3 separate regions of the Homo sapiens genome follow, and regions 2 and 3 are each linked to region 1. Evidence: promoter capture Hi-C in 16 types of primary human blood cells and fetal thymus (Javierre and others, 2016). All regions are on one chromosome and are shown on one strand. The core of a region is centred on a gene start or on the middle of the fragment in contact, and the rest is flanking DNA. Distances in the headings are between cores, read along the strand shown.

Evidence for each region. Contacts are between HindIII fragments. The CHiCAGO score rates a contact against its expected background, and 5 or more counts as called.
Region 2: a contact is called between the fragment with the promoter of ANAPC2 here and the fragment with the promoter of ENTPD2 in region 1, in 1 of 17 cell types (naive B cells). The highest score is 6.6, in naive B cells.
Region 3: the fragment with the promoter of PHPT1 here is called in contact with the fragment with the promoter of ENTPD2 in region 1 in 3 of 17 cell types (naive B cells, M1 macrophages and non-activated CD4 T cells); the score reaches 5.0 in naive B cells.

What each region holds. Positions count from the first base shown.
Region 1 is chr9:137,052,811-137,056,183 of GRCh38, forward strand. ENTPD2 (ectonucleoside triphosphate diphosphohydrolase 2) reads right to left here and starts at 1,251. Exons shown (of 9, transcript NM_203468.3): 1 at 1,071-1,251. The coding sequence starts at 1,187. LOC105376327 (a long non-coding RNA gene) reads left to right here. Exons shown (of 2, transcript XR_930455.2): 1 at 1-65; 2 at 200-565. RefSeq lists silencers at 1,237-1,306, 1,407-1,486. The HindIII fragment of the contact is 4,509 bases long and covers 1-1,372 here.
Region 2 is chr9:137,186,867-137,189,903 of GRCh38, forward strand. ANAPC2 (anaphase promoting complex subunit 2) reads right to left here and starts at 1,694. Exons shown (of 13, transcript NM_013366.4): 1 at 1,550-1,694; 2 at 615-1,237. The coding sequence starts at 1,666. It overlaps SSNA1 (SS nuclear autoantigen 1), which reads left to right and starts at 1,810. Exons shown (of 3, transcript NM_003731.3): 1 at 1,810-1,912; 2 at 2,200-2,399; 3 at 2,941-3,037. The coding sequence starts at 1,861. RefSeq lists an enhancer at 1,602-1,821 and a silencer at 1,852-2,201. The HindIII fragment of the contact is 11,278 bases long and covers 240-3,037 here.
Region 3 is chr9:136,848,088-136,851,214 of GRCh38, forward strand. It overlaps PHPT1 (phosphohistidine phosphatase 1), which reads left to right and starts at 1,322. Exons shown (of 3, transcript NM_014172.6): 1 at 1,322-1,503; 2 at 1,926-2,050; 3 at 2,668-2,937. The coding sequence starts at 1,344. The coding sequence ends at 2,760. It overlaps AJM1 (apical junction component 1 homolog), which reads left to right. Exons shown (of 3, transcript NM_001080482.5): 3 at 1-714. RefSeq lists silencers at 264-493, 714-773, 854-933, 1,114-1,173, 1,564-1,643 and an enhancer at 1,294-1,573. The HindIII fragment of the contact is 15,345 bases long and covers 1-3,127 here.

The DNA of each region.
Region 1 (3,373 bases), core at 1-2,500:
GATGCAGGAGGCAGGGCCCCAGGTGAAGAAGGTCCACCGAGGCTGGCCGTGGGCCTCAGAGCCAGGTCAGCTCTAAAGACACTCTCCCTAGGCCTCCAAGCCAGGGCCAGAGAGAGAGGCTGGCCCTGCCTTGTTGGGGGTGCTGGGTGGGCCTTCCTGCAGACCTGAGTGGCACGAGCTTGTAAATGCCCTTTTCCAGCTCCTGCCCCAGCATCCTGGATCCACCTGGAAAGCTGGGGACCAGCCTCCCAGGCCCGGGCGCCAATTCCAGCCTCCGAGAGGGCCGCACCAGTCCATCCCGACCAAGGCTTCCCCAGAGCCCAGAGCATCAACAGGTCAGCGCGTGCACCGCCACATGGCCGTCCTGCAGGGCCGCAGAGCTCCCTGCTTCTGACTCCCCATCAGGCTGGGGGACTTGGCTCTCCACCCCACCCCCCTACAAGCCCAATAAAGGGTTAAAGGGGCCGACCAGGAGGTCCCTGGGCCTGCTGGAGTGGAGATCCAGGCTAGCCTGCTCCAACCTTTTGAGGACCGGCCAGGGCTGCTCCGGTCAAGCCCTCCTGTCTTTCTGGGCCACTCTCGTGTCCTGGCGGGGGCCCTGGGTCCTGGGGCTTGTGGATCCCCATCTGGGCTGAATACCCAGTCGATGTGGCTCTAACCGCACCCTCCGGGGCGGCGGCACAGGGCAGAAGTGGCCCGGAGTGCCCCTGGGGGCCCGCACAGGCCTGGGGGCGGGCGTCCGGCAGCACCCAGGGGGCATCGCTGGGCTATCCCGGGAGCGGGGACACAGCCCCTGGGCTGCGTTGACGGACTCGGCGGCGGGCGCGGAACTCCCGGGACTTGTTCCTTCAGCACCGCGTCGCCCTGGAAGCGCCACCGCCCCCCGCCCCCTCCGCGTACCCGGTCGGGGAGCGCAGAGCGCGGAACCCGGGACCCCACCCAGCCCGCCAGGAGCAGAGCACGGTGGGGGTCCCGGGCTGATCCTGCTCAGGTTCCCAGCCGCACCCCCTCCCCGGCTCCAAGCCCGGCCCGCTGCTCCCCAGACGTGCGCTGGGTGCCCGGGCGCGCACCTTGAGGGCGGGCGGCTCCCGGACGTCGCGGGTGGGGACGCACAGCAGTAGGAGGCCGGCGAGGCCCGCGGCGGCCAGCAGCAGCGGCGGCAGCAGTGACCGCACCTTCCCGGCCATGGGCGGGCGGGCGCGCGGGAGGACGATGCGTGGACCCGGAGAGTGCGGGGAGCCGGAGGCGGAGGCGGGCGGGGCCGCGGGACCGCGGGGTAGGGGCCCCGGGGCGGGACGAGGGGCGGGAGGCCGGGCGGGCCCGCCCATCACCGGCCACGCCCACGGGCGGACAGGTTTCGCCTCCGCTCCCAAGCTTCCGCCGTCCGGCCCGCGCAGGTGAGAGACGCGGGCGCGGCTGAGTCACCAGCACCGCCCCCCGGCTCCCGGGTCTGAGCCCGGGCGCCCCGCGGCTATGGCCCACCTTCCCCTTCCCGCCCACTCAGCAAGGGGATCCCCCGGCCGTGGAGGCAGGAGACCTGGCGTGGGGGTGGGCGGGCGAGGCTGGCTCGGAGGGTCCTGTGCTGGAGAGCCGCGCTTTTCCCGGGCCCGGGAAAGGAGGCCAGACTCGCTTGCAGGAATGAGGCACTGTCGGCTGCGGAGCCACGCGGGGCCCGGGCTGGGGACTCAGGAGGAAGCCGAGGGTCAGCACCTGTTTGTGGAGCAGGGCCCTGAGCGCCAACTCCCAGGGCTGGTGAGGACCAGGCTGGCCTGCGGGATGCCCTCCCGGCCAGCAAGGATCCGCCAGCCTGCGGCGCTGAGCCAGCGCAGGTCAGCTCCAGAGACACGCAGCTGACCCAGGCCAGAACTACCCTTGAGGCCCAGTCAGATCCACCTCACCTGGGCCCTGTACTGAGGTGAAGGTGAGGACGCAGGAACGGGGAAGGGGAGGGACGGCCCAGGTCACACCGAGCCGAGAAACAGGAGAAGCAGCACAGACCGGGCCAAAGGTCCATACCTCCCAGCCCAGGGCCTCAGCCGCGCCTGCTGCCCCCTCGGCCTGAGGGGAACAGAGGCTTGGGCTGCGGAGGCCAGAGGAGGCTTCCCCAGGACGGAAACAGGTGGGGCCTCTACGTGGCCTGAAAGGCAAGGAAGAGGGTCCCCAGGCCAAGCTTGGGGTGCGGGTCAGCAACAGGCTTCTGGGGACGGCTGGGGCAGGCGAAGCGCAGCTGGCCCCAGACGCAAGCCCTGCTCCTCCGTCCCACGACATGGCTGGCCTTTCGGCTCTGCAGCCTCACAGGCCCCGCATCCCAGCCCGGCCAGGGGCCACCCCCTTTGCGCCTGCTGCAAAGTGGGAATTCTTGTCCCAATAATTCCAGCCACACAGCGTCAGGGAGCCACGAGGCAAGGCCACCAGGGAGTGCAGGCTGCTGGGGCCCAAAGGGCAGCCCCATGGGGCAGGGTCCAGACCATGCCCGGCCTTCTGGAACGGGCAGTGACAATTGTGCTGGGATTGCTGCCTGGGCTGAGGGTCTGGCGCCACAGGCCCAGTAAAGGCATCTTTCTTCCAGCTCAGGACCCCAAAGGGAGGGGTGGGAACCCTGGGAAGCCTCTCTGCTGCCTCAGCCTCACAGCCCAGCCTGGCGGGGCTCCAGCAGGCAATCTCTGGGTGTTGCCGGTGCTAAGCTCCAGGCCCCAGGCCCCAGTTTCCCCCCACACACCCCAGGCCTTTCTTCCACCCCTGACCGCCCAGAGGAGGGAGAGGCACGCACAGTGCACATCATGCCTGAAAAGGAAGGAACAAAGGCCGCCCAGAGGCAGGGTGCTGCGACCCCCACTGGCCTGCGGTACCCCGCTTCCCTCCAGGCCCAGCGGGGCTTCCTGGTGTTCTGGACTCTTTTCATGGACAAAAAGCTCAAGCCAGGGAGTGGGAGGTCTGCCAGGCCTGAGAGGATGGGGAGGGAGAGGGGAGCTGGACTCTGCCCCGGGGAGACAGGCTCATGGCCGAGTGCCCAGCTTCGCCTGCGGAGGGAGAGGCAGGGAGCCCAGAGCGGCCAGGACAAAGGCTGAGGCTGAGCTCTCTTTGAGACGGAGTGAGGGCGGGGGAACGCCCCTTCCTGGCATGGACTCAGGGACCCTGGAAGGCAGACTTGGGAGAGCGTCAGAGGGAAGCTGGCAGGAGCTGAAGGGGTGGAGGGGCCTCTGGGTGGGGCAGCTCTCGGCTTCCAGGACCCTCTCGGGGATGGGGCCTCCAGATGTGCTGCACATGACCCCGGCTGAGCTGGGAACATGCGGATGCAGAGAGGTTAGGGGAGAACCCCTGGGGGAGGGAACTCGGAGCCTCCCGCCCACGCAGGGCTCAGACCTCCCAGGGA
Region 2 (3,037 bases), core at 444-2,943, 130 kb after region 1:
CTGCCAGCAAAAGGAGCACTCCTTTAGTCCACCTTTAGTCCACCTAAGACCTCTCAAGTAGCTGCATGGCTACACCCCCGTTCAATGTGACAAAACCACCACAAATGGCCAAGGGTATGACAATTGCTAGAGAACTACAACAGGACCTGTCTCTCACAACAAACCCCTCTCCTCTCCAAACTAACAAGAGACTGCTTGCCCTCACAGTGACCTGATCTTCCTGGAGAGAAGCAGCAGCAAGCTTCTGTTCACAATTACAGGGCAAGGAATGTCGACGAGGGTGAGAATCATTCCTCCCCAGGATCGACAAAAGGCACAGTGGAATTCTGCAGAGTCCAGGAAGTTTGGAGTTGCTAAGAAATTTGCTGCTGCAGACACAAGCCACATAGGGCCTTACCAGGGTCAAGGCATGAATCTGTGGGACTGAAGGTGAGTGACAGAAGAGAGACACCTGTGTCCAGGACACGCTGCACAGGAATCCCTGGGACTCTCTCTCTGTCATGTTCCTGGTTATCAGGACGGCTCACCAGCTTTCTGCTGAGGCCAGCTGGACCCAGGGGAGCAGCGGGGAACCAGAAGGAGCAAGGGCATGGCCATCGGGACAGACTACTCACAAGACCTGGCTGAGCTGATGGAACTGCTCCAGAGCCTGGCGACACCAGCACTGTTGCTTGTCACTGCTGCACCCTGCACACAGCGGGCTCTGCAGGAGCCGGTAGTACCGGCGACGGGCATACCGGCTGTCCAGCTCCCCTTCCAGTTCCGGGTCTGTGCCCCCTTCCCCCTTCCTCTTACTCTGCATATAGACTCTCAAGAAGCACCCATACAGACGCTGGATCATCTCTTGGAAGGTTCTGGGGGTGCTAAAGAACAAGACTCCGCGCAACATAGTGTGGACTTCTTCTCGCAGCCCCTGAGCACCAGTGCCCATCAGCAAGCCCAGGCGAGTCCATTTCTCCAGCAGCTCTAGGCTACGCAGGTAGGGATCCAGGCGGCTCTCCAGCAGGCCAAAAGCGTCAAGGAGTAGCAAAAGGCACTGGGGCTCATCCGCAGAGTTCTCGCATTGGGAGATGGCATTCCAGAACTCAGGGGAGATGTTGGCCTGCAGATCGTTCTGCAGCACCTCCACGAACCACTCCTCCAGGACCGAGTGTAGCCCGTGGCCCCTCAGAACCTCCACCGCCGCCCGGAGCTCCTCTTCCTTTGGCGGGACTGCACCGCTGGTCCGGGAAGACACCTGGGGTGCAGAAAACCGTGAGGCGAGGGGAACACAACATAGAGGTGGGGAGAGGCGGGGAAGGGAAGAAGCTGAGGGGGAGGCTGCAAAAACTCCGCTGCCCCCTGTCCGTGCTGCCCGGACGTTGGGCCGAAGCTATGGAAGGGCTGTCAGCGGAGCTGAACGAAACGAAACGGAAAGGTGGTGGAAAATGGCAGGACAGGACAGAGGCGGATGATGGACAGAGCCGTATGAACCCGAGGGTAGCGGCCCCAAAGCGCGTACGGTCCCGGAAACTCCGCGCGGGGCCGCCCCTCTCTTCCCAGGCCTCACCAGCCCCAGCGCAGCCGGCGGCACCAGGCCGGTGCTCACGGTGTTCCAGGCCACTAACAACTCCTGTCCGGGCCGGGAGTCGCTGTCCCCCTCCGCCACCACAACTGCCGCCGCCATCTGCACCCACCGACTCCGAGATTCGCTCGGCGCGGCGCGCGGCGATGACGCACGTCTGCACGCGCAGCCATGACGCGCACAAGGCGCTCAGCGATGACGCGCTAGTTCGGCGCGCCGTGGGGGAGTCGTGCGCAGGCGCGGACAGCGCTGCTTCCGCGGCGGTTGGGGTGGTGGGGCCCCGGGCGGCGTTGACCATGACCCAGCAGGGCGCGGCGCTGCAGAACTACAACAACGAGCTGGTCAAGTGTGAGCGGCGCAGCCGGGACGGGGAGGTCGGGAGGGCCGCAGGGCCGGGTTCCCGGCTCGCAGCGGGGTGCCCCTGGACCCGCCTCGCTGCGGGCATCGCGCGGCTGAGCAGAGCCCTCCGTGCCGGAGGCCGGGTGTCCGTGGCCCGAGCCCTCGCTGGCTCGCAGGCCCCGCGCCGGGCGCTCGGGGGTGGTGCCTGACTCTGGCTTCCTCGGGTGGAAGGAGGCCCGCCCTCCGCCGCCGCGCTCCTGCCCTGGGCCCACAGCGCCGCCCCTCCCGGCCCCCAGGCATAGAGGAGCTGTGCCAGAAGCGGGAGGAGCTGTGCCGGCAGATCCAGGAGGAGGAGGACGAGAAGCAGCGGCTGCAGAATGAGGTGAGGCAGCTGACAGAGAAGCTGGCCCGCGTCAACGAGAACCTGGCACGCAAGATTGCCTCTCGCAACGAGTTCGACCGGACCATCGCGGAGACGGAGGCCGCCTACCTCAAGGTGGAGCTCGGGAGGCCAGGCCGAGCATCAGGGGATAGGCACGGCAGGGGTGTTGCCACGGCAAGGCGTCAGGACCGGCTGGGGCTCCCGGCTGTGGGCAGTCTGTGCCTCGCTGGCATTTCGGGCAGGGGCAGCGTGGCCAGGCCCATTGAGGAACCCAGGCTGCTGTGGGAGTGACTGTGGGGCTGTCTGTGGGGCCTGGGGCATCCTGGGTCCTGGTCTTTATCCGGTTCTCGCTAGCCATGTGGTTATTTCTGCTCAGTGTGAAGAGCCAGGTCTTGGGCAGAGCACCCAGCACGGGCCAGTGCTAACCCAGCCTGGCTTTGAGGGTGGAGAGGAAGTGTTTTGGGTCAGATTCCGGAGGGAAGAGGGCCCTGCCACCCCGTCTGCCAGTCCCCTTGGGCTTCCGCCTTCCCCCACACAGGATCCCTTGGCTACAGCACCCCCAGCCAGGTCCCAGCACCTGAGTGTGAGGACAGCTGGGGCTTAGGACCTTACCAACAGGTGAACATTAACAACCTTCTCACTTCTCTGGCCCCAGATCCTGGAGAGCTCCCAGACTTTGCTCAGCGTTCTCAAGAGGGAAGCTGGGAACCTGACCAAGGCTACAGCCCCAGACCAGAAAAGTAGCGGCGGCA
Region 3 (3,127 bases), core at 72-2,571, 200 kb before region 1:
CTGCAGGAGCTGGGAAAAACCGCAGGGAGGTCTTCAGGCCGATATGCAAGTCTCCCAGCCGAAGGGGCAGGGGACCTGAACAGGGGAAGCAGAGCACCTGGGCCTGGCCAGAGCTGACACCTGGCTAGGAGAGGAAGGACCAAGGGACGGGGCGTTCCCAGGTGGGAGCCTGGAGGGCAAAGCGTGGTGCGAGCAGGTGAGGGAGAGAGCTAGTTGGTAAGCGTGGAAGCCCACCCGAGGGGGCTTGACCTGTCCCGAGAGGTCCCCGCACACCCGCTCTGGCCGCACGCCGTACTGCGGGCGTGGAGGCGCAAGCCCGGCGGCCCGGCCTCCACCTGTCCCCCAAGTGCACCCTGGTCCGCGCCCAGAGCTCTCTGGAGGGTGGGGTATGCGGGAGAGGGGTGGAGGCCAAACGCAAGGGCCCTCCTGGAGTCCCCAGCCCTACTTCGGAGCCAGGGGAGGGGGCACCAAGTGAGAGAAATTGGGCACCCCCGCCTCCGCTCCTGCTTTCGCACCCGGCACGCCCATCTCGTCCCCGCGCGTCTGCACCGGCCAGGCGTCCCGCTTGCCCACCCGCCGCCGCGCCCCGCGCCCCCTACCCCAGGGCCTCTGCATTCGGCCCCACCCCTGAGGGCCGGCCGGGAACGCCCCTGGACCGGAATAATTTCCAGGGGGCAAGAGCTTTCGAACCAAGTAAAATAGAACTTGAATGTAGCGGCTGCCGTTGCCTCCTTGTACCGGTAGCGGGGTTGGGGACGGAAGCCTTCGGTCGGTGGAGAGGAGAAAGGGAGAGGCCTTCGGGCGGTGGACGGGGAAGAGAGGGAGTCCTTCGGGCGGTGGAGGGGGTGGAGAGCGAGGCCTTCGGGCGGTGGAGAGCGGGGAGGGGGGAGGCCTTCGGGCGGTGGGAGGGGGAGAGAGGGAGGCCTTTGGGCGGTGGGGGCCACGGGGAGGGTGGTCTTCGGACTACGTGCGGGACAGGAGGTCAGGGCTGGCAAGTCCCTCAGGCCTCCCTCGTTGCCCCAGCCTCGCGGGCCGCCTAACTGCCCCGTTCCAAGGGTGCCACCGGACCCCGCTGGAGAGGAACTTCTCCGTTGGCTGGATTTCATCACCACCCATTCCCGATTCCACGTTTCCTTTAAGCGGGGCTGGCGGAGCCGCAAGGCGGCAAGGAACTGGATTGCGATTGGTCAGCACGTGCCTCGGTCGGCGGTACAATTGGCTGAGGCGCTGGGCCTTGGGAAGCATTCCCCGACGGGATTGGTCGTCGCTCTCGCAGAGCCCGCCTCCCGCAGTACAAGCGGCCCCCGGGTCGGGTGGGAGGAGGGGACTCCGGGAGGAGGAACATGGCGGTGGCGGACCTCGCTCTCATTCCTGATGTGGACATCGACTCCGACGGCGTCTTCAAGTATGTGCTGATCCGAGTCCACTCGGCTCCCCGCTCCGGGGCTCCGGCTGCAGAGAGCAAGGAGATCGTGCGCGGCTACAAGTGGGCTGAGTACCATGGTGAGGGCGGGACCTGCGGGCATGCCAGGGGCACGCCTGGCGAGGCGGGGGCGGGGCTGGCGGGACGGAGACGGGGCTGACGAGGCAGGGGCGGGGCTGGCGGGGCGGGGGCGGGGCTGCGGGCCGTAGCGGACTGCGCTCTGCTCCGAGTCCTGCCCCTGCTAGGTTTGACCCAGGCTGAGGTCCTGGGCGGGAAGGGCGTGACACGGCCTGACACCCTCCCCAGCAGTCTCCCAGTTCCCGCGCCCTCCCCGGTTCCACCCTCCTTCGCTCATTCATCCCTGTCCCAGCCTCAAGGGGCTTCGTCTCTCCTGGGGAAGGGGCTGTTCAGAGCTGGGATTTCAGACCCCTTCGGCTGGGAGTTCCTCCCGCGGCCTCCAAGGGCGGCCAGGGCACGTCCTGAGGCCGCCCTCCCATCCCAGCGGACATCTACGACAAAGTGTCGGGCGACATGCAGAAGCAAGGCTGCGACTGTGAGTGTCTGGGCGGCGGGCGCATCTCCCACCAGAGTCAGGACAAGAAGATTCACGTGTACGGCTATTCCATGGTGAGCCGCAGCCCCGTCCCGCCCTGCCGGAGGCCCCAGTACCAGCTTCGAGGCCCACCTGAGCCTGCTGCCCTGACCCGTGGCCCCAGCTGAGCACGCAGGCTTCCTGGGGTTCTCCCAGGGTCGGCGGCAGAGCCCTCCCTCCAGGGCCCATTGTGTTCCTGCATTCCCCCATGGAGCACACGCCAGACCTGAGGGGTGGGACGGACACCCCCAGACATGGCCGGCTGTCTCCTCTCCCTGCCTTGGGAGGCCTTGCTGGGCTCTAGCTGTCCTCCAGCACTTTGGGCCCTGGGCCCCCAGAGGCAGTCAGTACCTGGGTGGAGCTCAGAGTCCCCACCTGTGCTCTTCACAAAAACCACCAGCAGATGAGACCCACGTGCGTCCCTCTGGGCGCCTCAGGCCCCAGGATCCACCATCAAGGTTTGCTTGCCTGTGGAGGTCGCCTCTCCCCAGGGGAGCCCCCAAGGGCGGTCGGGATGGTGGGTTTGGCATCCCCAGGCACTGCCTATCCCTTTCCCACACTCGCTTCTGGTGTGGCTGGTGGCTGGATGCCCAGAGCCGGGTATCGGGTTGAAGGGTCCAGGTAGTGCCAGCAGGCGTCTTCTCTTCTCCAGGCCTATGGTCCTGCCCAGCACGCCATTTCAACTGAGAAAATCAAAGCCAAGTACCCCGACTACGAGGTCACCTGGGCTAACGACGGCTACTGAGCACTCCCAGCCCGGGGCCTGCTGCCTCCAGCAGCCACTTCAGAGCCCCCGCCTTTGCCTGCACTCCTCTTGCAGGGCTGGCCCTGCCTGCTCCTGCGGCAGCCTCTGGTGACGTGCTGTCCACCAGGCCTTGGAGACAGGCTAGCCTGGCCACAGAATTAAACGTGTTGCCACACCTGCCGGCTTCTGAACTCTGTCCTTGGCTTCCTGCACCCTGCGTCACCACCTCCGGGGGCCCCCAGACCCTAACTAAAGCAGGTGGGTGGGGGAACACAGGAGTGGCCCCAGGGAGTGGCGGTGCACACTCAGCCCTTTGGGGTCTGATAAAGGGGCCCGCTGATGGCCTGACTGCTCTTCCCACGGCCAT